7 separate regions of the Homo sapiens genome follow, and all the other regions are linked to region 1. Evidence: promoter capture Hi-C in 16 types of primary human blood cells and fetal thymus (Javierre and others, 2016). All regions are on one chromosome and are shown on one strand. Each heading gives the region's core, a stretch centred on a gene start or on the middle of the fragment in contact. The rest is flanking DNA. Distances are from core to core; before and after follow the strand shown.

Evidence for each region. Contacts are between HindIII fragments. The CHiCAGO score rates a contact against its expected background, and 5 or more counts as called.
Region 2: a contact is called between a fragment that was not itself captured here and the fragment with the promoter of SIPA1L1 in region 1, in 13 of 17 cell types (neutrophils, naive CD8 T cells, fetal thymus and 10 more). The highest score is 23.1, in neutrophils.
Region 3: a fragment that was not itself captured here is called in contact with the fragment with the promoter of SIPA1L1 in region 1 in 1 of 17 cell types (naive CD8 T cells); the score reaches 5.0 in naive CD8 T cells.
Region 4: a fragment that was not itself captured here is called in contact with the fragment with the promoter of SIPA1L1 in region 1 in 11 of 17 cell types (neutrophils, activated CD4 T cells, naive CD4 T cells and 8 more); the score reaches 24.0 in neutrophils.
Region 5: a fragment that was not itself captured here is called in contact with the fragment with the promoter of SIPA1L1 in region 1 in 5 of 17 cell types (neutrophils, total B cells, monocytes and 2 more); the score reaches 16.8 in neutrophils.
Region 6: a contact is called between a fragment that was not itself captured here and the fragment with the promoter of SIPA1L1 in region 1, in 12 of 17 cell types (neutrophils, activated CD4 T cells, total B cells and 9 more). The highest score is 20.3, in neutrophils.
Region 7: a contact is called between a fragment that was not itself captured here and the fragment with the promoter of SIPA1L1 in region 1, in 12 of 17 cell types (neutrophils, naive CD8 T cells, activated CD4 T cells and 9 more). The highest score is 17.7, in neutrophils.

Annotation. Positions count from the first base shown.
Region 1 is chr14:71,318,711-71,322,559 of GRCh38, forward strand. It overlaps SIPA1L1 (signal induced proliferation associated 1 like 1), which reads left to right and starts at 1,766. Exons shown (of 24, transcript NM_001386936.1): 1 at 1,766-1,793; 2 at 2,412-2,471. It overlaps SIPA1L1-AS1 (SIPA1L1 antisense RNA 1), which reads right to left and starts at 3,138. Exons shown (of 4, transcript NR_184180.1): 1 at 2,964-3,138. RefSeq lists an enhancer at 1,245-1,404 and a silencer at 1,665-2,684. The HindIII fragment of the contact is 21,627 bases long and covers 1-3,849 here.
Region 2 is chr14:71,756,933-71,760,629 of GRCh38, forward strand. No RefSeq gene overlaps it. Among named protein-coding and RNA genes, the nearest start is that of RGS6, 170 kb to the right of the region's middle. RefSeq lists an enhancer at 1,355-1,913. The HindIII fragment of the contact is 5,795 bases long and covers 1-3,697 here.
Region 3 is chr14:71,775,055-71,779,029 of GRCh38, forward strand. No RefSeq gene overlaps it. Among named protein-coding and RNA genes, the nearest start is that of RGS6, 160 kb to the right of the region's middle. RefSeq lists an enhancer at 1-94. The HindIII fragment of the contact is 1,453 bases long and covers 648-2,100 here.
Region 4 is chr14:71,732,340-71,736,171 of GRCh38, forward strand. SIPA1L1 (signal induced proliferation associated 1 like 1) reads left to right here. Exons shown (of 24, transcript NM_001386936.1): 21 at 1,327-1,473; 22 at 2,938-3,052. LOC124903342 (a long non-coding RNA gene) reads right to left here. Exons shown (of 3, transcript XR_007064259.1): 3 at 2,586-3,112. Among named protein-coding and RNA genes, the nearest start is that of RGS6, 200 kb to the right of the region's middle. The HindIII fragment of the contact is 8,106 bases long and covers 1-3,832 here.
Region 5 is chr14:71,639,596-71,643,553 of GRCh38, forward strand. All of the region lies in intron 7 of SIPA1L1 (signal induced proliferation associated 1 like 1), which reads left to right. Among named protein-coding and RNA genes, the nearest start is that of SNORD56B, 240 kb to the left of the region's middle. The HindIII fragment of the contact is 3,794 bases long and covers 1-3,239 here.
Region 6 is chr14:71,659,178-71,662,824 of GRCh38, forward strand. It overlaps SIPA1L1 (signal induced proliferation associated 1 like 1), which reads left to right. Exons shown (of 24, transcript NM_001386936.1): 10 at 2,133-2,290. Among named protein-coding and RNA genes, the nearest start is that of SNORD56B, 260 kb to the left of the region's middle. The HindIII fragment of the contact is 1,376 bases long and covers 1,354-2,729 here.
Region 7 is chr14:71,714,759-71,718,618 of GRCh38, forward strand. The region is part of intron 17 of SIPA1L1 (signal induced proliferation associated 1 like 1); the gene reads left to right. Among named protein-coding and RNA genes, the nearest start is that of RGS6, 220 kb to the right of the region's middle. The HindIII fragment of the contact is 326 bases long and covers 1,691-2,016 here.

The DNA of each region.
Region 1 (3,849 bases), core at 516-3,015:
CACATACATATGTGTATATATATTTAGATGCAGGATCTCACTGTGTTGCTCAGGCTGGAGTGCAGTGGTGTGATCAGAGGTCACTGCAGCCTTTAACTCCTGGGCTCAAGTGATTCTCAAGCCTCGGCCTCCTGAATAGCTGGGACTACAGGTGCATGTCAGTATACCTAGCTAATATTTTTTATTTTTGTAGATACAGGGTCTCTCTATGTTGCCCAGGATAGTCTCAAACTCCTGGCTTCAAGCAGTCTTCCCACCTGGGCCTCCCAAAGTGCTGGGATTATGCATGTGAGCCACCATGCCGGCCAGCTATAGAATTTTAAAGCTGTAATAACCTAACATGTGGGGTACCCCCCACAGATGAAGAATCAGAGAGATTAAATAACTTCTCAAGGAGACTCAATTATTAGTGGCACAGAAAAACGTAAACCCTAGTTTGCTGACTTTGTCTAGTATCACTTAGGTTTCTAATACACAAACTTTCATTGACAGGATTTAAACTTGCAAGTGACTTACAAGTTTTGACTGCCTAGTCCTCATATGCTTAGGTTATGCTTTAGGTTTCTAGTTCTGTGGGACTGAGTTAAATAATGGTTTCCCCATGTTCATGGATAGGAATTTTAAAAATTGAGATATAATCCACATACAATGGTATCTATTTTTACTCATTCATTTTGAAATCTAAAGTTTAACTTCTATTCATAATATCCATTTTACTTAGGCAGTGAGTATATAATAACCCTCACCTCAGAAAAGTTTCTACAGTTAAAAGACACGGGCTGAGGAGAGTTCATCTTCATCCTTACTAGCATTTTGGAGTACGTATAAAGGCGTCTGCGGATGCCTAATGATTAAAAAAAAAGTTCCCCTCACCATGGTGAATAGGGTTTTTACGAGAAAAATATGGAGAAAGCAGAGATTATTACCATTGAAAAAGACAAGGTGTTAACAGAAATGGGAGGGTAGCTTGATAGAGTCCAAACTTGACTGAACTCTCTAGGTTAGGGCCAAAGGCAAGTACTGAGGACAGGCATGGACTGTTGCGTTCAACTTGTCAAAAAAGTGGCCAATATGTAGTATGGACCAAGCCTATAGAGGCGCTGAGAATACAGAGATGAATGAGCCAGTTCCTGAAGGAGCCCAGTCTGCGTGTGTTTGCGAGTTGAGAAGAGGAGGAGGGAGGCAGCATGGGGAGTGTGGGGATGGAGGAATTAGATTGAAAGAGAAGGCCGAAAAACTGAATATATAGTAGAAATTTGGGGTGCAGATATGTGCTGCCTAGAAAGGCAGAAACCTGTCCCAGAACCTCTTAATACATTAGTCTCATTTGCCAAATTTGGCCAGATATCATGACTGTGGTCCTCTCGAGATGCCCTCTTGAATCGGCTTAAAAATTATCCTTCCGCAACCACCCCTAGCTTTCCCCACCGCCAGTGCGCCGGGCAGGTTGAAAACTGCACCCACGTTTGCAGCCTCTGCTCTCCGCAGGAGACAGGAATCCAGGGCTTTGCCGTCGTCATAGCAACCAGAAGTTCCGCGGTCCCCTACCCTCCCGCGACTTTTTCCACTTCCTCCGCCTGCAGGGCCCAGCCGCCGCTTCTCTCGCGAGACTTGTGCGCCGCGCTAAGCCGCTCCGTGGTGATCTCACCCGAGACTTGGGGGAGAGGGAGGAGTGAAGGAGGGGAAGGAATGGGGCGGGAGGCGGGGCGGGGAGGGGAAGGGCGAGTGAGGCGCCGCCACTGCCGGCAACTTTGTGAGCGAGTTCAGTGCGTGCGTGAGCGAGTGAGCGAAAAGTCAGTGCAGCGCCGAGTCCCCGGCTGGAGGGTCCCCGGGGAGGGCCAGGTCTGGGCCCCAGAGGCCGCCCCCGCAGCCACTCCATTCCCTCCCGCCTCTGTGGCTCCCTCCCCATTTCCTCCCCCACCGGTCGTTGGGGCCTTCCCGCCCCCGTCCGCACTTACCTGTCCCCTCCCCCATGCGGTACGCACCTCCTCATCCCCCCCCCGGCAACCTCGCGCCCACCTTGGACCTTCGGAGCCCGGACCCCCGCACTTGCTTCCCGTACTGGCCGCCCCCTCAGTTCTTTCTGCTGGCGGGCGGGATGGGGGCGCTGAGCCTCGGGGACGGCGCGAGCGGGGGCCCGGGCGCCTAGACAATAGTTGATGCCCAAGGACGGGGCCACCTCCGCCTTCCCCTCCTCCGGGAGCTCGGCCCCCGCCGGCCCCCCGCCAGCCTGTATTCCGGGTCCCCCTCGGAGCCAGCCTCGGGAATTGGGCTGATTCCACCCCCGCCTCCCTCGGGCCCCCCTCCGCTCCGCGCTCGGCGCCCGCCTCGGGCCGGCCTCGCCGCTCTCCGCAGAGGAGGCGGCGAGTGAGCGCGCGCCGGCCGTCTACACGGTTTCTCTTTCTCCCCAGGGAGAGCGCGCGGCGGACGCGCCCGGGACGCGCGGCGGCACCGGGAGGCCGGGCCGAGCGGTAAGTGGTCCCCGCGCCCGGGTCCTGGGGGGAGCGGGGGTGCAGGACGGCTGACAGCCCCCTGCCCTGTTTCTGGCCGGGGTTGGGGTCCAGGGCCCGGAGCAGGACCCCAGGAGGCCGGTTAAAGTTTGATTTTCGATTTGGTGGCTTGCTGGTAGCTTAGCCCGGCGGGGGCGAGTCCGGCTTCACCGCGCCCGGCGCGCGCGCACGCACCCCAGAACCCGAATCTGCACAACTACTGGGCAGGCGTCTCTGCGGGAGGCCAGGAGACCCGCGTCCCGGTCCGGGCGGTTGCGTCCACCCCGCTGAGCTGGTCGCCACCTGGCGACCCTTCCCCTCCAGTCACCTGGGTGAGCGCTTTGCAGCCTGAGCTGGAGTAGGCAGGCCGAGTTGGTTGAGTTGTGGGAAATGGAGACGAACAGCTCGGTGCCCGAGGGTGGTTAATTTCCCCTTTGGGGGTCTTGGGGACATGAAATTTTGGGATGCTCTAACCTGCTTTCCGGGGAGCGAGTAAACCGCGAAAGGGCTGGGAAGGCGTGAGGGTGCCGCAAAAAGAACTTTTCCTCCTTCGCCCCATCTGTTACCAGCTTCTCTCCTGACCTTAAAGGAAATTTCCGAGGCTCTTAAATCGCTCCACGGCATTTCTAGGTGGACCAGTAATCGTGTTGGGCAGGTTGAAATTTCATCGCGGTTTGGAGAACAGAGAGACATGGGAAATGGCTCACTTCCAAGGAAGATGTTTAGCTAAATTGTTGGCATTCGTTTTCTAAGAGAAGCATTTGGGGATTGATGGCTCCTAGACTACGATTACCTTATAGATTTTATTTTTCCTGACGGGTAGTTTAGAGGCAGCATTCGCTGAAATGCATACTACCTGTGAAACGATCATGTTTCTAAACTGGAGCCAGCGATGTGATGCAAATTTCAGAATAAAGGTGTCGACTTTCATCAGGTTCCAGGTCTATCTGGATGGACTGGGATTGGCGTTTCCTCTATAAAGCAAACCTTTCATGTTGAAACTCTGAGTCAGACTCTTAAAGCCATTGTCTTTATGCTGGTACTCTGTGGGAGTTAAGTGTCAACTTTCTCCTGTTTTCTCCTATGGAGTATCCGTCCAAGGCAAAGATTCTCTGACTGAATCTTTTGGAAACGTGCAAGGTTAGATCATACTGAATTCTGCAGCCAGTTTAGTAATAATATTAGTTTTCTATATAATCCTGATTTAACGACTGTCATTTTTCTCTTCGTTTTTTGAAAGCTGCAATTAAGCTACCTTTACCAGGATTTAAAAAAGAGGATAATATGGAACAGTGGTAATAACAGTAGGTCTCAGCTAATTTATTATGGCCACCGATGTGTCCAACTATTAGATGACATC
Region 2 (3,697 bases), core at 554-3,053, 440 kb after region 1:
CTGACTGCATACATTTTTAACAAGTGGAAACACTAATAAAAGTGAGCAGGCTTGCATATCAAAAAAGCACTCACACCATTACTAAACTGACAAAGGAAGACTTGATAAACAGCCAAGGTCAAAGGTTTCAACAAAGACAAGGAAATAGGTGTGAAGGCCTGAAATAATATTATGTGTTCAATGTTTAGCTAAGTAAGTGATGTTTTTGATGATAACCACAGATTATTTACAGAATATTTACAGAAAACAAGGAATAATCTTAAAACTTACTAGAAATAATTTTGAAATTTGATGCGAAAATGGCTGAAACAGGCTGAAAATTAAAGAAATAGTCCCTTTCCAGAATGGAGAATTCAGAACAAGATTGTTATGAGTAATACAGTGAGAAAAGAAATCATGCATATAATATATCCAAATCAACTAGATCATTCTAGAGATAAAAGACACATTGAATCACTAACATGTATTATGTATACATCACTGAACTACCAGAAGAAAACAAGGGCATTGAAAATAGTGAAGGTAGTTAATTGGTTTTACAAATATTGTAAAAAATATTTTTAAGTGAAGAACTAAAAAACATCTCAACTTTGGGTGTTGATTTAAAGCAGAGGTGTTTATATAGAGGGCTAAATAGTAAGCATTTTGGTCTTCACAAGCTGGACTGAGCCTTCAGTCTTTCTGGCTATTTCAGGCATAAAGAAGAGGTCCCAGGATAATACCAGGGTCAGCCTATTCCAGACAGAAAACTTCAGGAAATGCTGAAAAGATCACAGTATCCTTAGCCCAGGATGCTGGGGGGGTTCCTGTTCACAACGGTGCTATTCTAAGGGACTTCTGCCAACTTAGAGACCGAATCTAAATTTCTCAACATCGTGTTTACTGCCTGCCACTAAAAGAACAAATTAGACATGCCTGCGGCACATGACATTTTATAATCTCTTATTGGTGTTGCATATTTTCTTTGTGAATATTTTAATGTTTTTATTATTTAATTGAACTTCCATATCTTTTAAAAGATACAGGCTATCTGACCAACCAAGTCGATGCTTTACATTGCAAATTTAGTATAGAATAATTTTTGGTTCTTTAATTTTTTTTTTAGGTTTCTTTCTGTGGTCCAACCTACCACCCTCATATTTCCAGCAGAAGGAACATGAAATGAAAAAGGAAAAAAGCCCTTACAATATCATACGAGTTTCTCTACCAGCACATCATGCTGGTGTCCTAAAGAAGCCAGACAGCAGAGTTAACGGGTACAAGTTTAAACGTTGTCATCATATTTTATTCTGTGTTCAAAACCACTTTCGTGATTTCCCTAATAACACATGCAAAGTCTCCTTTGAAGTTATGGAAGAGGGGCGGTGTGTGTGTTTTCTATTTTTCTTTTTTCTAAATGTACCGATAGGCTGGCCTGGGCTGGGATTGGATAGAGAAGTTGAGAGAAAAGGCAGAAACCACCTGTCTCTTGAAGTTTGCCTGCTGGTCCCCTAGCAACTGGTTTCTTGTTTGAGGCATATTTGAGCCATATAGGGAAGACTCAGAATGCTGTAAAGGGGCACAGAATTACTCTCCCACTGGATAATGAAGTTGTTTTTAATTACAATAATATAAACACTACATTTAAGCAGCAGTGAAGGAAAGCAGGAAGTTTGCAGAATGAGCTTTTCTGAGTTACCGTATCTGCTGTTGTGACAAGAGGAGCAGGTGTGTGCTAGGGGCCACCATTGACTTCTGGCTTGCAGGAGCCTGAGTCGCTCATTCAGCTTTGTCCGTGCCCACAGGGGCCAGGCAGGCTGCAGTCACAAGGGAGTTAAACAGGCGAGACACTGGAGAGCAGAGCTGGGCCTCGAGGGAGGCCGCTGTGTGAACTTGTAGGAGGCATTCGCTCCTGGAGGTGCAAAAGCCGACGATGTGCTTGCATGGCTCTGAGAGCAAGACCACAGGCATTTAGCACCTGGGTCCCTCACCTGCCTTGCCCCAGGCCCCTCTGGAGAGGACATGTCCCACCTAGAGTGGCATCTGCAGCTGAATGCTGCCATGTGAAACAGAGCCCGGTTACTGGACCACTTGGTAAAGAAACAACAGAAATCTAGATTTTTTGGGGTGGAGAGATGAACTGAAATCTCCCATTAAAAAAATATTTCAGGCCGGGGGCGGCAGCTCACACCTGTAATCCCAGCACTTCGGGAGGCCAAGGTGGGTGGATCGCCTGAGCTCAGGAGTTCGAGACCAGCCGAGCAACGTGGTGAAACGTCATCTCTACCAAAAGCACAAAAAACTAGCTGGGTGTGGTGGTGCACACCTGTCATCCCAGCTAATTGGGAGGCTGAGGTAGGATGACTGCTTGAGCTTGGGAGGCAGAGGTTGCAGTGAGCTGAGATCATGCTACTGCACTCCAGCCTTGGTGACAAAGTGAGACCCTATCTCAAAAAAAAAAAAAAAATATATATATATATATATATATATATATATTTCACTCAAACCTCATTCATTTGAGACACAAGGGCCAAAATTTGAACCACAAGTCTTTGCTTAAATCTTTTTTGTTGTTTGTTTTTTTGAGACAGGGTCTTGCTCCATCATCCAGGCTAGATAACAGTGGTGCAGTCAAGGCTTGCTTCAGCTTCAACCTCCCAGGCTCAAGCCTCCCTAGCTGGGATCATAGGTATGCACCACCATGCCTGGCTAGCTAAAAAAAAATTTCTTTTTGTAGGGATATTGTCTCCTTATGTTGCCCAGGCTGGTCTCCAACTCCTGGGCTCAAGTGATCCTCTTGCTTTGGCCTCCCAAAGTGTTGGGATTGCAGGTGTGAGCCACCGTGCCTGGCCAGCTCTTTACTTAAATCTTTTCCTAAATGGTCTGGGTAAAAACAAAAAACTTTTCCTATTCTAGTTCTAAAGCCATGAATCCCACCCCTTTCAGGCAGGTAGGTACACTTGGCGTGTTCAGGGTGACAGAGGCTTTCCAGTTCTGCAGTGCAGGCAGTGAACCCTGTCCCACCAGACACAGGGGGATCCAGCTCTTGAATGCCTGTCCCCCACTGGAACACAGATTCTTAGTAGAGAACTGGGTGAGGGGAGTGGCAAAAACTGGATGATCAGGGTATGCCATCAATATTTATATAAATGAAGAATCCAGTAAGGGAAAATATAGCAAAGTGAGGGAATAGAGCGTGTGTATATATTTTGGGGGTGTGCAGTGGTTTACCCATGGGCGTAGCCAAACCTGTGAATCCAGATGCTTTTGGATAGGTCATGGAAGGCTAACTCGTCCATTGAGAAAAAGTTTAAAAAGCGGATACATTACAAAGGTCATATTTTTAATGGCACCAGAGAGTTACAGAAGCTATAATACAAGGATAAATGGACTAAATTTTCAGGAAGGGATAGAACTGTCCAGAGATAAGTGGACAATGCCTACCTGTTATTTCCCCCTAGGGCATTCTCTGATTCTGGGCTGGGCTAAGGATCAGAGCTTGACTCCAGCAGAGACCACCTGCTTGGGTGGGTATGGGGTATACAGTAAAATCAGCAAAAGTCTGAGTGGTCCTGTTGGGTTGGGCTTCCCAAAGCAGGGATTTTCAGAGCCTCAAATACATGTCTAGGTTCCCCCATGAAACATTTTCTGAATTCTGAGGCTGTCTGGGGGATTAAAGAGTCAGGTAGCATGTTTTTTTTTTTTTTTTTTTTTTTTT
Region 3 (3,975 bases), core at 124-2,623, 460 kb after region 1:
AAAAGAATGCAACTGTTTGTCTCTCACCTATCTATGACCTGGAAGCCCCCTTCCTGCTTCGAGTTGTCCTGCCTTTCCAGACTGAACCAATGTTCATCTTTCATATCTTGATTGATGTTTCATGTCTCCCTAAAATGTATAAAACCAAACTGTGCTCTGACCACCTTGGGCACACATCGTCAGGACCTCCTGAGGCTGTGTCACAGGCGTGCATCCTCAACCTTGGCAAAATAAACTTTCTAAATTAACTGAGACCTGTCTCGGATATTTGGGGTTCACACTGGAAAGTGGGGATCAGGTCTGAGTGGTCCTACCCATATGCTTCCCTGTTTTTGGATAACCTGGTCATACTCACTTTCAAATGGAAAGGTGAAGATTTGAGAAATTTCAAACCATGGAAGAAGAACCTTTGTGTGGACATTTTGAAGAGAAGGGAAACGTATGTTATCTCTCTTTAGAGGTTTCTACAGCTGTGAAGTTACTTATGAAAAGATGTGAAGGCACATCTAATTTTCTGAAGTCAAAGACATTTAAATTCTTACCTTTCAGACAAATGGACATTTAACTCCTTTATGGATCTCAAGGTCACAAGGGCTCAGAGAAAACTTCCAACTTCCTTTTAACTACGAGTTCCTTGACTTTTCTTAAGCTTCTTGGTCCTGAGCCTTTTGAGCAAATAAGGCAATGGCTGTGTCCCAAGCATATCTAAGAAATAAAGACTTCACACATGGGGACTCAGGAAGAGCCATAGAAATGTAAGCAAAGTAGCAGTTCCCTGAGGCTGTTGAGAGCTGCTTTCTTCAAGCTCCTTTTATTCTTAGGCTTCTCCAGGGGAAGGATGGGCAGTAAGCAGATTTATAGACCATACCTTAGGTGGATAATCAACCTGACATTGTCAGAAAAATCTATTAACATAGCAGTACACACTGCAGACATTTCTACCTCCCACTTGTAGAATACAATACAAGGTTATTTTCTACACAAAGAAGAGTATATCATTTTCAATATTTCTTTTCTTTTTTCTTTTTTTTTTTTTTTTTGAGACAGAGTCTCGCTGTGTTGTCCAGGTTGGAGTGCGGTGGCTCCATCTCAGCTCACTGCAAACTCCGCCTCCTGGGTTAAAGTGATTCTTCTACCTCAGTCTCCTGAGTAGCTGGGATTACTAGCGTGTGCCACCATGCCCAGCTAATATTTATATTTTTAGTAGAGATAGGGTTTCACCATGTTGGCCAGGCTGGTCTCGAACTCCTGACCTCAAATGATCCGCCCTCCTCGGCCTCCCAAAGTGCTGGGATTACAGGTGTGACCCACCGTGCCTGGCCTCATATTTATTTTCTTACTGTAAAGAAAAAGAGAAGTGACTGAGATATTTTGCCTGTGAAGGTGCATGGATGTCTGGGCTAGTCACTGTAGTGGTTGGAGCAACAGTAATGAAGCCAAGGGTTTAGTCTGTCCTTAAACCTGTTAGCTTCAGTGTCTGGCCACAAATAATCCTCCTAATGTGACTTGCAAATGCCAAGCATTGGTCCTGAGAACTGGTGGAGAAGTACAGATGGCTCAGTGTGTATCTATCACCCCCAGTGGAGAAGTAATACTGAGCACATGCTGATAGCTCATTCTCGGCATGGACAAATGGCTTCCTTTCTGGTTGTGTTGAAAGTCGAAGGTTTTTCTTATTATAAAAAGATGCTCTTTAAATTAATGTTTGCTTTTGCTCTGATGTGAGAAGAGGAAAAAAAAGTGTGAATTGCAAAGACCCTTTCCAGCTGAGATGAAACAAGAAAGATAGGCGACAAGCTGAGAGGGCATCTGTGGTTTCTGTTTGGCCACAGATCCTGGGGTAGCAGAAAGACACACTCATTCCATTACAGCGGTGATGGCGCAGATTCAGAAAGGAAATGCAGACCTCCAAGGTCATGGACTTTCTCTGAGAAGAAAAAAGAGCTAATGAAGGAAGCCACAAAGAGATGGCAAGGGAACCAAGGCAGGAATGAGTCTGTCGATAGCAATTTCCATTGGCCTTTGTTATGCGCAAGACAAAGAGGCGACATCTAAGCCTGAGTCCTTCAAGGACAATCATAAACCAGCAGAGCTTTCCCAAGCTTCTGCAGTAGGTTCACAGATTAACTGGGTCAGTGTCTTATTTGCAACTCAGCTGGTGAATGATTGTGCTGCCCTTCAGACATTGTTTGACAGTTTGTTCTCTGTGCTTTGAGGAATCCATGAAGACAATTGGTAAGTTGAAGAGTGCTAATCAGAGAATAGTTAGCGTCAGCTGAGAGCGGATCTCTTGGGAAGTCAGGCAGAGCCTGAGCCTCAGCCTGAGCAGGTCCATACATTTGATTTTGGTTTGTGTGTTCAGAGGTGAAGAGGCCCAAAGTACTGACTCACACTAGTCAAACTGACAAGACACAAATGCAAAAGCCTCAGTAACAATTCACTAATTTGGAGCAAGAAACATAACAGTCAACATACTATATCAGCTAATTAGCACGTTGGCTCTCTGGAGGGATAGAAAACTGAAAATGCCTATGAAGCAAGGTAGGTAAAGAAATGAATTGAGCAGGTGTGAGGTGAAAGGGAGTTGTTGGGAGTGGGCTGAACAGGGGACTCTATTCCCCTTCTAAAATATGCAGCCAATATAATCTCCACCTAATTCTTGCTACTCAGGGTTTGATGTGGCCAGACCTTCTGATTTTTCAGAAGTTGGAGATTCAGATTTATAGGAGTCATTTCCTGATTTATAAATATTAGCAACTAATTTATAAAAGTTTTAAAAATCATTGTGTAAGACAAACCTGCCAGAACATTTCTCATTTGCAACCATGAATTACAAACAAAAGGCTGCTTTGGGAGCCAATTTCAGGACAAGGTGGGGTAGTTGGTTGACTTCAGTGGTTACTGTCATCAAACCCACAGCCTGATGCATCTGCTTCCAATACTGAAGACACATCAGACAGGAAGGGCAGAAGCCGCCTCTTCAGCAGTCGCATTTGTCTCCAACCTCCTAGCTTTCATTAAAACCACCAATCCCTCTGCTAGCACAGGTTCTTTGTTTACATTGTGGAGTTTGCTAACTAAGCCTCCACCTTTCTTTTTTTTTTTTGAGACGGAGTCTCGCTCTGTCACCCAGGTTGGAGTGCAGTGGCACAATCTCGGCTCACTGCAAGCTCCACCTCCCGGGTTCACGCCATTCTCCTGCCTCAGCCTCCCAAGTAGCTGGGACTACAGGCACCCGCCACCATGCCCGGCTAATTTTTTGTATTTTTAGTAGAGGCGGGGTTTCACTGTGTTAGCCAGGATGGTCTCGATCTCCTGACCTCATGATCCGCCTGCCTCTGCCTCCTAAAGTGCTGGGATTACAGGCGTGAGCCACCGCGCCCGGCCAAGCCTCCACCTTTCTATACATCTTCTGGGACTGCATTCTCACTCCCGAATTAAGTTTTACAAATCCTTTGGTTTTTCCTAAGGATCCTCCTAAAAACCCTGCATTGTGTCCACACAGAAACACAATCTTCTCCATTAAGGATTGATTTTTCTTGTTTAATTTCCCAAAGGTAACAATGACAATATTATAATATATTCAAGAAATGTTTATTGAGCAGCCACATGGAACTATTTTTAACGTTGGATGTATTAGAAAACAAGCCAGAACTCAAGGAACTTCTTTTTTTTGTTGTTTTTTTTTAGACAAGGTCTGGCTCTATCACCCAGTCTGGAGTGCAGTGGCGTGATCTTGGCTCACTGCAACCTCTGCCTCCTGGGCTCAAGTGATCCTCCCACCTCAGCCTCCTGAGTAGCTGGGACTACAGGCACACACCACCACACCCAGCTAATTTTTATGTTTTCTTTTGTATAGAAATGGGGTTTCACCATGTTGCCCAGGCTGGTCTCGAACTCGTGAGATCAAGCTATCTGCCTGCCTCAGCCTCCCAAAGTACTGGGATTACAGGCATGAGCCACTGTGCTCGGCTG
Region 4 (3,832 bases), core at 399-2,898, 410 kb after region 1:
CTGAGTGTCGCAGTCACCTTCCAAGGGTGCTCCTTCTCGTGGAGTGGTGTGCTCTGCCCTGGCTTCCACCCAGCTTCTGCCTACTGAGGGCATTTCTATGTCATGAGCGTCGTTTCCCCTGGACCCCAGCAGCCCGCCCTTCCTGTTATCTGCCTGCATGAACCTGAGCAATAGGAGCTGCCTTCAGTGTTCAGGGTGGCTCACTCTGCCCAGTCCTCCCTGCCAAGCAGATCTTAGTTGTTAATATGTCAGTTTGTTGTTACAATGGTTTAATATTTGTATTCAACAAAATGTCCCCTTAGGAAGAGCTTGGGATGTTAGACTGCTGCAACCCAAAATTGGTCCAAAGAATAGCTCGTGTGATGACTGCATCCTAGAGAAGAATAATGCCAGTTCCACCCCTAAAATCACCTTCCTGTCTTAGCTCTGTCTGAGTAACCCAGCACACTCACATCCCTTGATGTGCCCCTCACACCCCCTTGGACACCTTTGACCATGGAACCCAGTGGGCTGCCCCTCAACAGCAGAGAGGGCAGGCATGGGCCTTCTGTCCCTTACCACTCCCGGGCCAGATAAAAATAAACCCTATTAAACTGGGCGTGGTGGCTCACGCCTGTAATCCTAGCACTTTGGGAGGCTGAGGCAGGCGGATTACGAGGTCAGGAGTTCAAGACCAGCCTGGCCAACATAGTGAAACCCCGTCTCTACTAAAAATACAAAAATTAGCCGGGCATGGTGGCACATACCTTTAGTCCTAGCTACTTGGGAGGCTGAAGCAGGAGAATTGCTTGAACCCTGGAGGCAGAGGTTGCAATGAGCCGAGATCATGCCACTGCACTCCAGCCTGGGCTACAGAGTGAGAATATGTCTCAAAAAATAAAAAAATAAGCCCTATTGTCCCCTCTAGTAGGAAGAAACATCCCTGGTCTGGCTCCAAAATCCAGCTCCCTGTTGAAGTAGGCCTCTTCTTCCTGGCCCAAATCCCTTGACTCTGTGCAGGAAAGTAGATGCTAGTGCTGCCTAGGCCCTGCTGTGGACAGACAGCTCTCACAAAAGCAGACTTAGTGCCTCCATGCAAAACTAACTTTGCCATGACTCACTGCTGGAAGGGAGATGATGGGAGGTTGTGAAAAAATGAAGGCAGACTAGAGGAAGCCGATTCCTATTTCAAGTCAGCTTTAGAATAGCCACTAACAGCCTGCTAACCTGGACATTGATAACAGTCACAAATGGCTTACAATCTATTGTGGTAACAGGAAAGAGGTAAGTTTTGAGTGGCTCTTCCACAGGCACAAGAAGCATCTCATTCCTCCTCCCTTCCCGCAGGAGAGTTCTCAGCCTCGGACAGCTCCCTCACTGACATCCAGGAGACCCGCAGGCAGCCTATGCCCGACCCTGGCCTGATGCCCCTGCCTGACACTGCTGCAGACTTGGATTGGTCCAACCTGGTAGATGCTGCCAAAGCCTATGAGGGTGAGTCCACTGAATCCACACAAGACAGCCCAGGATCCTGCAGCGGAGTGAGCAGTCTCCATCCACTCTACTTCTCTGGACACACTCAAAACATATGTGCCTCACCAGATGAGCTATCAGTTACTGAGCATTCAGTAGGGACCAGACCCTAAGCTGGACACCTAGGCACATGTTTTATGTAATCAGATGCCACCTGGTGTTTCCTCCACAGGATTCATAACATGAATGCCTCGCCTCCTCCGTATATGGGAAGGGCAATGGGTAGAGGAATCCCAGCTGTCCCTTGACTAAAAAGAACATGTATCCAGAGAGGATCTTTCATCACGTCGCAAGACATTGTTGCTAAATGTCACAGTGCCTGCCCTGCTTGGCCACGCGCCTATCCTCACAAATGTGGGGCGCCCCCTTTGCCGTTCTCCCTCATCTCCGTGCGCGGTAGCGCGTTGTCTGTCTGCATTGTCTCCTTGCCAGCCTGCTGGCCGTGTGCTCGCTTTAGGCTGGCGGTTCTTAAATGCAGGTCCTCAGACTGGTGCTGATCTTGCCTGCTGTAATGAAAACACAAAAAGTAGTGCAGTATGTGTGTGTTGACATAAGATTGTCAGCTGGGGTTTTTGTTTTTTGAATGAAGACTGACTTTTTTCTAAGTTTAAAGATCTTTCTAAAATTTTTATTATTCTTTACAAACTTATAGCAGGTGATTTTTTTTTCTGTTTTTGTTGTTGTTGTTGCTCTTAATTAGGAGAATTGAAAATTGCTATTTAGTCAAGTTTTAATTTTGGGGAGAAATGTACTAGGCCACAGAATCTGTACGTCGGGCAACCATGGAATGGTCAGCAGTGAATCCTTTTACCTTCATGCTGTTTATTTAGCAGATGGAAATTCCCAGTTCTAACTTGATTTTTCAGTGTGTTGGTTAATCTCCTTCATATACAAATGGTAGAAGTTTTGGTTTCTAATGGGAGATTATTTTAAATTTGATTTAGTTTTCTTGGCTTAAATTTTAACTTGGTATGTTTTGGAATACAGGTGGTATGGATTTATGTTAAAGCCAACCAGAGTGTCCAGGAATCTTGTGGTGGAAAACATACTTCAAGAAGTTTTAAGCATAATGCTAGCTCTCGAACGCATTTATTTCATTGCTGAGTGGAAAGCCTTGGTCTGGAAATTTGGCACAAGGACTGTTTCCAGAGAAACATTTCATAGAATGCTACAGTGATGAGCAGGGAAGAGGGGGGACTAGAAATTGACTCACAAATGTTTCTTAAAGGGAAATTACATGGCTACAATCCTCTTATAGCTAAAACAGTCATATTTTTCCCTGTGAGGGTTGGGAAATAAGATTTCCAGTGCATCCTGCACTGGAAATACTAGACATGACTGCCAACTAGACCACTTGTTGACTTTGATAGATAGGGCCAGGGATGTGGTTCCAAAATACTAAATGGTTTCTTCTCTCCTTTCCAGTCCAGAGAGCCTCATTTTTTGCTGCTAGTGATGAAAACCATCGCCCCTTGAGTGCTGCATCCAACAGTGATCAGCTGGAGGACCAGGCTCTGGCCCAGATGAAGCCTTACAGCAGGTTGGTCCCAGTGCAAGGGCAGTACTCTGCACCTTGTGTCACATCTGCCACTGACTGCATCTGTGGGGAGAAGAGATGGAAGCCACACGGAGTAGCTGAGTGAAGCTGATCACTGCAGGGCTAGACACTTTACATTTTAGTCAGAACGCTTTGTAACTGAATACTGTAGACATAATTAAACTATTCTTGATGACTTATACGGCCATAATGATGAATATTCATTATTATTTAATGTCATAATACATTTATGCCCTCAGGGCCAGTTGGGGCAGGTAGGAGAGACCATTTGCTCTAAGTATTCCTGTGCTCTGTGCTGTGTAGTCCTGCAGTCTGGGTTTTCAGTCTCTTTCGCAGTGTTGCTGATGGTCATGCTTATACATGCGCTTGCTGAGTCCTAGTGGCTCCCAGTGTGCTGCTTCACGTCTGTGTGTTGGAAAGCTAAATCACCAGGATGGTTAAGATGGTATGAAGGTGAAAAGTAGGCAATAACTGAGGTCCTAAGGGCTTCTCAGTCAGGAGCAGGGACTTTACAACTTCTATTTATGCAGAGACCGACTTTTCTGTTTTCCCCTTAGTTTCAAAATGGTGAGGTTGCTAGATTTATGTGTGCTAATTTCTGTATGTTAAAGCATCCCATCAGTCAGGTATGGAACATTTAGTAAGCACTTCTTGTTGCAGAATAATTTCATTCATTTGAAATCTCTTCCCTTAAAACCCTTTGAGGCTGGGATTGGTGGCTCATGCCTGTAATTTCAGCACTTCGGGAGGCCAAGGCGGGCA
Region 5 (3,958 bases), core at 93-2,592, 320 kb after region 1:
CAAAGGAACTGGAATACCTAAAACAATCTGAGAAAGAGGAATTAATGTGGGAGAAGTTATTCTGTCTGATTTCAAGACATGTTATATAGCTCCAGTAGTCAAGACTGTGTGGCATTGCTGGAAAGATAGACATGTGGATCGGTGGAACAGAATAGAGAAACCAGAAATAGCCCCACACAAATATATCTAGCTCATTTTTGGCATAGGTGTAAAAGTAATTCAGTGGAGGAAGGATAGGCTTTTCCAACAGTACTGGGACAACTGGACATCCATAAACAAAATAATGAACCTTGACTTTTTGGGTTTTTTTGTTTTTTTGTTTTTTTGAGACTGAGTCTTGCTCTGTTGCCCAGGCTGGAGTGCAGTGGCATGATCTTGGCTTACTGCAACCTCCGCCTCCCAGATTCAAGCAATTCTCGTGCCTCAGTCTCCCGAGTAGCTGGAATTACAGGTGCATACCACCACACCCGGCTAATTTTTGTATTTTTAGTAGAGACGGGGTTTCACCATGTTGGCCAAGCTGGTCTCAAACTCCTGATCTCAAGTGATCTGCCCACCTCAGCCTCCCAAAGTGCTGGGATTACAGGTGTGAGCCACCAGGCCCCCGGCCTAAACCTTGACTTTTAAGCATCAACAATTAATTCAAATGGATCATAGATTGAAATCTACAAGTATTAAATTTTTTTGAGAAAAACATAGGAGAAAATCTTTGGGACCTTCAGCTTGGTTAAGAATTCTTAGATGTGGCACCAAGAGCTTGATCTAGAAAGAAAAAAAAAATTTGAGAAATTGTAGTCTATCAAGATTAACAATATCTTACAGTGCTTTTTCTCTTAGACATTTGCTGATAGGTTAAGAATCTTGGGGCTTTTCCATCTAGCATAAAGCAGCAGATAAAAAGTTAGGAGACAGATCAGAGCTTTCAGTGATCAGATCAAATCAGAGCTTGTATAGGGCTTTGGAGGTTACAAATTGAATTCAAGGCTTACTAGAGAACTCAAATCTGTAAAACAATTATATTGAAATTCATTTTTTTTCTTCTTCTTTGAGACGGAGTCTCACACTATTGCCCAGGCTGGAGTGCAGTGGTGCAGTCTTGGCTCACTGCAACCTCCGCCTCCTGAGTTTAAGTGATTCTTGTGCCTCAGCCTCCCGCAGAGCTGGGATTACAAGTGTGTGCCCCTACGCCCGGCTAACTTTTGTATTTTTAGTAGAAACGGGGTTTCACTGTGTTGGCCAAGCTGGTCTCGAACTCCTGACCTCAAGTGATCCACCTGCCTTGGCCTTCCAAAGTGCTGGGATTACAGGCATGAGCCACCACACCCAGCCTATATTGAAACTCTAAAACTAAAAAACCCCTAAAGTTAGACTCATTTAAAAGTAGATATGTTTAAGAACATACTGGACACAGTAGGAGAGAGAACTGATGAAGACAGATTACCAGAAAAATTTTAACTAAAGAACGGAGACAAGAAAACATAGAAAAATACAGAAAAATGTCTGAAAGGCATGTGGGTAACAGCAAAATATATATATGATTGAATTTCCAGAAGAGAAGATATTTATGCATTATTTGGGAATAAAAGCAGTATTTGAGGAAATGCTGGTAGAGATTTCCAGAACTGATGAAAGACAAGCATTAAGATAAAAACAAGGAGTTCTGTCCACCCTAAACAAGATAATCTAAAAAAAAAAAAAAAATCAAATATAGGCTCATAGTAAAAATTGCTGAAAATAAAAGAAAAAGAGAAAAATCTTTAAAAATAGCCAGATGGAAAAATACCTTTAAAGAACAACAAGACTGTTAAACATTTGCTGGGCTATAAAGCCTAAAGAAAAAGTAGAGGCCGGGCGTGGTGGCTCATGCCTGTAATCCCAGCACTTTGGGAGGCCGAGGCGGGCAGATCACGAGGTCAGGAGATCGAGACCATCCTGGCTAATACAGTGAAGCCCCATCTCTACTAAAAACACAAAAAAATTAGCTGGGTGTGGTGGCAGGTTCCTGTAGTACCAGCTACTCTGGAGGCTGAGGCAGGAGAATGGTGTGAACCTGGGAGGCGGAGCTTGCAGTGAGCCGAGATGGAGCCACTGCACTCCAGCCTGGGTGATAGAGCGAGACTCCGTCTCAAAAACAAACAAAAAAAGTAGAAGGCAGAAGACATTTCTAAAGTGCTGAAAGAGTAACCCTCACAATGGATTTTACACCAAAAATTTTCTTTAAAATGTAGGCAAAACTAATTTATAGTAAAAAAAACAAAATTAGTACAGTGGTTGCCTGAAGCTGTTAGATGATGCAGGGATGGACTGCAAAGAGGAACCAGGAGCTATTGGGGTAATGGCAGTGTTCTGTATTTTGATTGTGTTGGGGGTTTGTCAGAAGTTATTAAATTATACGCCTTGCATTTACTCTTCAGAAATCATACATCAATAAAGTTGATTTAAAAACTGAAGGCAAATTTCTGCTTCTTGCTAAGATTAAGTAAGAGGGACTGCATTTAACTTTCCACCTGAAACAACTTAAAAACTAGACAAAACAATGAAACAATGGTTTTTATAATGTTGGACATCAGGCATTGAAGGACATTGATTGCTTGGGAGATGGGAAACAAATGAGGTGAACCCTAAGATTGCACCAGCTTTCTGCCTGAAGAGAGTTTCCAGGCTACAGTACAGGCAGGGGGTACCCAGTTAAAGGCCAGAAGCCTCCCTGATTGAGATTGAGATGTGAGTCCAGGGAGGCTAGAATTCGCAGAGCACAGAGAATCAGGGAGGAGAGAGCCGTAAACAGTCTACCTCTGGTGCGAATAGTTTCAACTCCTACAAACCAGACTGGAAAACTTCATAATTGACATGGCATTGAGTAGAGCCTCACAATGCTTTTGCCTCAATAGTGGGGCAGAATTATCCTTAGACTAAACACTGCTGTCGTACAACCAAGAGTTTAAAAGCAAGAACTACAAGGCTCAAACTCTTGCCAAGTAATTTAACTATGAATCCAGAACAAAGTCAAAAATACTTTATAGGAATACAACAATATCCAGCACCCAACAAGGTAATATTCATAATGTCTGACAGTCAATCATTTAATTAAAAACTACAAGCAGGAGCATATGACCTATAGTTGGGGAGGGGATAAAATAATTAAACAATTAAAACCACAAAAATGACTCTGATGTCTTTTTAATGTTTAAGAAGCAGGAGGAAAGATTGAACATTAAGTAGAAATCTGGAAAAAGAAAAGCTTTGTATTTATGGATATGAAAGCTACAATATCTGAGTTGAAAAGTACACTGGACAGAATTAACAGCAGATTAGACATTGTCGAAGAAAGGATTAGTGAACTTGATGACATAGCAATAGAAACAATTGCCAAAAAAAAAAAAACAAAAAACCCAACATCAATATACTGTGAGACAACTTCACCTGACCTAATATTCATATAATTGGAGACCCCAGAGGAGTTAGGAACTACCTGAAAAAGTAGTTGAGGAAATAGTTCCAGATTTTCCACATATGATGCAAGCAGACCCAAGAAACTCAATGAGCCCTAAGAATAAGAAGCATGCAGAAAATGACACCAACAGATATCATAATCAAATTGTTTCAAACCCGTGATACAGAGAAACTCCTAACAGCAGCCAAAGGGAAAAATCTTGATTTTCAGAAGAAAGGTTATCAAAATAAACAATGAACATAGGAAAAGTTAGATGACTTTTTTAGTCGTTAGAGAAATCCAGAAGAAAGCATAGCAATACAGTTCTCAGATGTTTACGTCTCAGAGTCCCTTCACCCTTTTAAAAGTTAAAGATCCCAAAGAGCTTTTGTTCATAAGACTTTTTTGTGTGTTTACCACATTACAATCAAAACAAATTTTAAAATGTTATTTTTAAATAAAATGATTACATTTTACATGTTAATATAAGTAACATGTTTGTGAAAAAAGTTTTCTAAAATGAAA
Region 6 (3,647 bases), core at 792-3,291, 340 kb after region 1:
CTTCTTTTAAAAGCTATTACAAACTTGAGCAGTCCAATTTTACTTCTGACCTTCAAATGGATATGGATTTTTGTTTTTGTCAATTGTTGTGCTAACAGAGCACAGGCCAGCTGCAGAATGAATCACATCCTCTTTCACAGAAGTTAACCAAACACTGATCTAATCTAACACTTTATCAGTTTACATTTGATTAAATCACAAATCTAGGTAACAAAGTTTTGCCTTTCATGATTGCCAGTGTAATAAAAAATAGAGAGCAAAGCAATGAATCAGCTATAAATCTGAAGTAAACCTGTTTTAAGATAAACTCCCTGATCTGTACTTTGTTGATAATTTGTTTTATGCAAATTCCAGATTTTAGCTCTCTTTGAAAGAAAAACACCATGCTAAGAAAGGCATAATAAACTTATTCTGACCAGTCAGTAGATAAAAAATTTAAGAACATTAACAAAATGATCCTTAAAGAGAGCATAAAGGCTTATTCTGCCTGATCACTTAGAAGAGAAAGATGAGATTTGTAAGGGTAAAAAATTTACTAACAAGATTGGATTGATTATTTGTAACTAAATGAGTTGAAGTGGTAGGCAGAGAAAGTGGGCATTTAAATGGCAGCTCTCTCAATTATTTAATTTTGGAGTCCAATCAAGGCAAAAATGTTACAGTCTTAAATCAGAATGAGAAAGAAATTGGTACTGCAACATATGAAAAAATTTTCACTCTCTAGCCAAAAAATTTATTTTCCTCTATGTAGATTACTTTATGCTTGGAAAAAAAAACCAGGAAAAATGTATCTTTAAAAATTCTTTTGCAAATATTTTTAATAAAATATTTTTCATTATATGTAGTATAAGATGGAAAAATGGATTTGTTTCTATTTGGGTCCTTTATTAAGACATTTATTTTTATATGTCAAGCCATATTTTGAAGAATGAATAATATTACAGAAAATGACATCATTTATGCAGGAATGGCATAACATGTAGATAAATAGTATTTGTTTTTGGTATGTCCAAGATCTTGAGTAGATTAATAATCTTTAATTATTGGTATGTTCTGTAGAGCAATCAATACACACCAGCCTTTATTTTCATAACGTCTGTTTGTATATCATATTTAGAAATGAACTCAGAAATAAATTGCTTCATTAGAAGACAATTTGGGATGCTTTCAAATTCCTGAGGTTAAAAGTGCATTTCCTGAACATTCTAACTCCCAATTTGCAACCCTAATCTAAAAGGCTATTATTTCTCCCACCTGGCAGCCAATACTAGATCACTGATTTTACTGGTTTGCAATTTGTATGCCTTAATGTCACCAGAGAATATTTTTTTAAATACAAGTTTTGTAAGTACAAGCTTATGTCTAATGGATAGTTTATATAAATGTCACACTTAGTTGTTTTTCTTTTTTAAGAGCCTCCGTACAGTAAGTTTGAGAAACACAAATTTTGTTTGGTTTTCCTTTACACTATTGAATTAACTGCTGAAAGGCACTGACCTAGGATGATTTGGGGTGCCTGAGTTTGAAAGCCACCCATCCAAAACCCAGTGAATGTGAAACAGAGGGTGTCCCTAAGCAGCTTTCATTGCAGTTAAAGAAGCTGTTTAAACCTGAAATTTACCTGCTTTTAATTGTTGCAACATTCTGGAATATTATTCTTTTCTACATGCCCAGCTTGTGACACAAAACATATATCAGAAAACACCTTAGCCACATTTTCTTTCAATGAGGCCAGTTAAACCAGAACATAAATTACATTGTAATTATTTCAGCCATTCTCATCTCTAAAAATCTTCCCTGTGGCACGTGTTTTTCTTATGTGAAAATGGAACAACACTGTTGTTATAGAAACTGAGGGTTTGGTGATGTTGGGACCTGGCATAATATGCCAGATATTGGGTAGATCTATTTGAATGGCTGTATCTTTTATGCAAATTTCAGAATGTTCGTTTCTATGTTCTTCCTTAGAGGGAATAAGGCAGGTGAAAACATTGACAGTACCTGTGTAGATTACCTACCTTCATGTGTACTGATTAGGAATGGATGTTTTAAATACAGCTATATAAGGGAATTGGGGTGGCGGGGGAAGCAAATGATTGTTATTTATGTTGGTTGCTTATTTTTTCTTGTAGCTCCTGAGGAAGCGGCACATTGGAAATGATATCGTAACAATTGTTTTCCAAGAGCCTGGAGCACAGCCATTCAGCCCAAAAAACATCCGATCCCACTTCCAGCACGTTTTCGTCATCGTCAGGGTGCACAATCCGTGCTCTGACAGTGTCTGTTATAGGTGTGTATGGGTGTCACAGCAGGGGCTCTGTGGATGTTGGCTGGTTATCGCATAGAGGCCCCATTCAGCTCTGCATTCTAAAGTGGCAATGGGAAGTCTATTACTATTTCTTTTTGTCTTTAAACCATGCATGCGGATGGCTGAATTCACATGATGATGTAATCTGGTGGCATTGACATTACCCAAGCATGTTGGTTAGACACCTGCCGTTTCCATTTGCACCTCCTTCTTAGGTGATGTCCTTCATCCATACCATCTGGTCACCAACCAACTAATTACTCATATTGCTAATTATATTTTTCTTTTGGCATGGCAAGAGCAGAGAAGAACGATTATAATAAATAGGGAAGAGAAGTTAATTTTTTGAAAAGCATTGTTATTAAAGAAGCCTAAATCCTTGCCTCTGACTTACTTGATTCACGTTAGCACTCTGACTACAAGCTTAGAAACGCTTCTATACTTTATTTAGCATTATTGAAATTGTTTCAGTGTTACTTGTTGACGTAGTCACATGAGTATCAGAATTCAGGCCTCTATCTGCAGAGACCTTTCTTGTAAGAATACTAGAGTTAGGAGTTGAAGGAGATAGGGACCTGTCACGCTAGCTCGATAGGGGTGTAGTGCCAGAATGTGTAAGGGTAATGTTCTGGCATTTGTAAGATGTTTTTAATGTGCATCAGTTCCTTTCAAAATATGGACATTTGGCGTATCTTTCCATCCCTAAAAAATGTTACCTGCATAGAAAGTGACCTGTGCACATTGACAGTTTGTGAGATCCACAATTGTATATTTCTAGGAGTAAGGCAGATTAATTCTAGGAGTAGAGTAAGCGTAGCTTAGGGAAAAAAAACAAGTAGAGGTTATGTTGGTCTCCTGCTGGCTGTCACCATCCTTGCACATATCCTAATAACTGCATTGGTTGAGCTCTTGTTATAAGCCCCAAACTATTCTAGACATCTTACATGTATATCCCATTTAATCTTTAAAACCTATGAGGTAGGTACTGCTTTTATCTCCATTTTCAGATGATGAAATTTCAGCCAGGTCACTTGCCTCAGGTTAGCTGGCTAGTGTTGAGCAGAATTAGACAGGAATGCAGTCAGTTTGATTCTAGAGCCCAGTCTCTTAACCACGCTGCTATGCCGCCTCTCTTACATGCTGGGAAAGCTGGGTTTTTCACTCCGAGCTCCCAACACAGAGGCTGTTCCAGAACTTTTCAGGTGCTGAGCCTAGGTGAACACCCAAGACCAGGGAGGTCTGTAGTTTCCTAGGGTTGGGGCAGAACCCCCAACAATGAAGACCTAGATCTGAAACCTCTTATCAAGGAAATGGTGTCTGAGAGCTGCTCTGGTTAGTT
Region 7 (3,860 bases), core at 604-3,103, 400 kb after region 1:
TTTTATAGAGACAGGGTCTCATCATGTTGCCCAGGCTGGTCTCATACTCCTGTGCTCAGGCAGTCCTCTCACCTTGGCCTCCCATAGTGCAGGAATTACCGGCATGAGCCACTGAGCCTGGCCCACACAACTTTTCTAAATAATTTCAGTATATAATAAGTCCTCTCCCTTTTCAATATTTAATTCCATTCCTCTAGCTACAGCTCAAATACACAATTAAGAGAGAATAAATGTCTTTTTATGAGCTGAGTGTTTTCTAAACATGAAGATTTTTGACATCTAAGATTCTGAGAACATGTGTTGGCCCTGCTTGCCTTAACCTAGTTATTGGATATAGATTATTGACTATAACGTGGTCATTTGCAAAAAAAGAAAGAAGGAAAATTTGGTATAGCTCTCTACCCCCAGGCAAGTTGGGAGAGGAACATAAGGAAAATAGATTTGGAGCCTGAGACCCTGGTTCAAGTCTCAGTTCTACCATTGGTCAGCTATGTGGCCTGTGGCCAGTTGTACCATTTCACCTGGCTTGTCCCTCATCTGTAATCTAGGAGATGGCATATTGGCCATGGAATACACCATAGGATTTTAAGGTGCACAAATTAAACAGATACAAGCACATGGTGACAAATGAAGATGGCTTACTATTGCATCTTTCAGTTCACTGGCCAGCAAACTGCATTTCAGCAGTCAGCTTGTTCAGATTCTACACAATAGACAGCAGGTCAGAAACTCAGTGGCTAATGGATAAAGCCTGCAGCTGGTAATGTGCCATGTCATACACATTAGCATAGCCTAGTACCACCAAACCAAAATCCTGTTCCACCTACTAAATGGCTGTTTTTACATGTCTGTTGAAAATAAAAAAGATTATCAAATGTATTGCAAACTGTAAATGTCATTTTAAGACCAAAGGTTTTTTGTCATTTCCTTTTGTAAGCTCTTCATCACCTGCCTTAACAATTTTCTAGTGACTTTTCTTTTAACAAGCAGGTATCTCCCACAGCTCTTATAACTACACTTTGTGTGTTTCATCCTATAATCATATTTTCTCTTCTCAAGCATCTGGCTTTGTTTTCTTTATCCTTTTTAGATGCAAAACTTGGACATGACACTCTTCTCAGCTATGCCCAATAAAATGATAATGTTCATAGATATCTTGTTAGCCCCTTATTAAATAGCTTAGCGTTACAGGCTTTTCAGCTTGTGGTCCACGGTGATCCCTGAGGCTTCTACTGCTGCATATAGCTGGCCACTCATTTCCCTATGCTGTATGTATTAATATGCCCTTATACTGTTAAATTTCTGCCTTTTATAGATGGACAATTTTTCTTTACTGCAGTCACTTGGATATCTTCTTTGTCAACTTAATCATCCCTACTTCACTTGTTTTCCCCCAGTCCTTTGGAATTAGTGTCTTCTAAATTGTGTTCCGTACGGTACTCTATTGGATAGAGTACAGAACTGGCTAGTGCTGAACACAGTGGGAGGAGTCCTCCTTAATCATTATCCTCCACATTATCTGTCACCCAAAGGCTTGTTATTTGTACAAGCAATCACAGGAAACCCGATCAGCTCTCCTCTCCTTGGTATTAGACCAGCATTCAGCCATTGCCCAGATTTTGCCACAGCCATTTGACAGGTGACTAATTGCTTCTCTCTGCTTCCTGAAAATACCATCTTTAGCAGGCCAAGCTTGTCTAAAACCCCCTTGCCATTCCTAAATAGTAGATGACTCCAAGTTTTCCCATCAGCAGCTTTCTACAACACAGACAGTGGCTGGCAGATGTTTTTCACAGGATATGATGATCTCAGTGACGATGCAGGAATTCACAGTGGTCTCCCCAGGCCTCATAGGTTCAGCACTCTGGGCCTTGACTGATGACATTCAGGCTTCCCAATCCTGTGTGGCTCATCGCTTGGCAAAGTCAGCAAATAGATGTAGGTCCTCCTTAAAGCAGCACCCGCTGAGAGTAGCATCTTTTTTGCAGATTGGTCATCTAGCATCCCCTCCTATAAAGCTTCGCCACAGCTGGGAATGTAAAATCACCAGGTTGCTGTACACGTGATCCATGGTTTCATTTGAGCATCAGGTCAAGATGAGAAGTTTGGACAGATTCAGGCTGTCCCAGATCCTCGGTGACCTCACTACCTCTCTTCTTTTTGAAACAGTCTGGCTCTCTTGCCAGGCTGGAGTGCAGTAGCACGATCTTGGCTCACTGCAACCTCTGCCGCCCAGGTTCAAGTGATTCCCTTGCCTCAGCCTCCCGAGTAGCTGGGACTACAGGTGCATGCCTTCACGCCCGGCTAATTTCTTGTATTTTAGTAGAGACGGGGTTTTACCTTGTTGGCCAGGATGGTCTCAATTTCCTGACCTCATGATCCACCCACCTCGGCCTCCCAAAGTGCTGGGATTACAGGTGTGAGCCACTGCGCCCGACCTCTTTTATATGGGGTATCATGTACTTGTGTATCCTCTCTTCCTTTTCAAAATTAATATCCTGACATGACCAGACAGAATCTAAGGTTGTTCCTTTTTAGGAAAGGAGAAATGCCCTATAGCTTATAGAAAAATTAAAGTTAGTAGTTTCTTCATGTAGAATTTAGAGACAACTTGAGTAAATTTCTAGTGATTCCAATTTGGCCATACTCAGTTAAACTCACTTCTTATACATTGAGAAAAGTAACATATTGCAGTTATTATTTCCTGTTACATCTAATGCTCTTTTCCTTTTGTTAGATATTATTGGTTCATTCCCTTCTTACGTAATTCCTATGACAAGATTTAACTCTCTGTGAGTAAAATGAAATTGCAGCCTATTAAATTAACATGAAATTTCCAGGATAATGAAAGAGCCCAGCCACACAGCTCCCCTTAAAAATTATGAAGCTGATAGCTTCATGGTAGTTGTATTGTAATTTAATCTACTTCAGAGATTCTTAGGTGAAGTGTATGGGTGCACATCCCTTGACGCAGTCTCAGGCCAGTGGGTTGGTCAGCTGCAAGGAGCCCACCCACAGCTGTGCCCAGAGACAGACTCATTTTAGAGTGGGAGGAGTTGAGGGGCTAATGCAGTATTTCTTCAACCCAAAAAAACATGAGAATACTTTGGAAGTGTGTTAAAATACAGATTTCTGGGGCTCTGGAAGATCTAACACAAGCCCAGGATTCCCCAGTTACATCAGTACCTACAGGTGGCCATGTTCTGTGGCTTGAGAAACACTGCTGCCGCGACTTCACCTTCTTCACCTAGACAATATGGAACTGGATTTTGACCGTCATAACAATGTGTGTAATTCAACTGGATGAGAGTGAGCAGTAGGCCTCAGTTGGTGTGAACACTTGGAGGACATTTTACCTAATCTTCCAGGCATCATTCCTCCTTTACTAAATTAAATATCTAGGATTGGGACACAAGAAAGTATGCTTTAGAAGAGCTCCCAGGTGACGCTCACAGGCCCACTGAATTAGAGGCCCTGTGTACTGAAGTGCACAGCTTCATGCTGTGAGTTGTGTGCATTAAAGAAGAAAGCCATACCAGTGAATTGTTCATTTGTTTCTCTCATAACCTTTGTGCCTAAATCTAATCAATTAAATGGGGCTGTCTCAATTAGAACCACTAGTGAAAAGAAGTGCACTGGCATTTCACACCTGGGAGCTAGTGTCAGCCCATTGTGTTCATAGATAAAACCAAGGATCGGGGTTGATCTTATTTAACCAGTTATCCTTTTAAGAATACATGTGAAAGCCAGGTGTGGCAGTGAGCACTTGTAGTCCTGGCTACTTGGGGGGCTAAGGTGGAAGGATCGCTTAAGCCCAGGAGGCTGAGGCTATAGTGAGCTATGATTGCACCACTGCACTC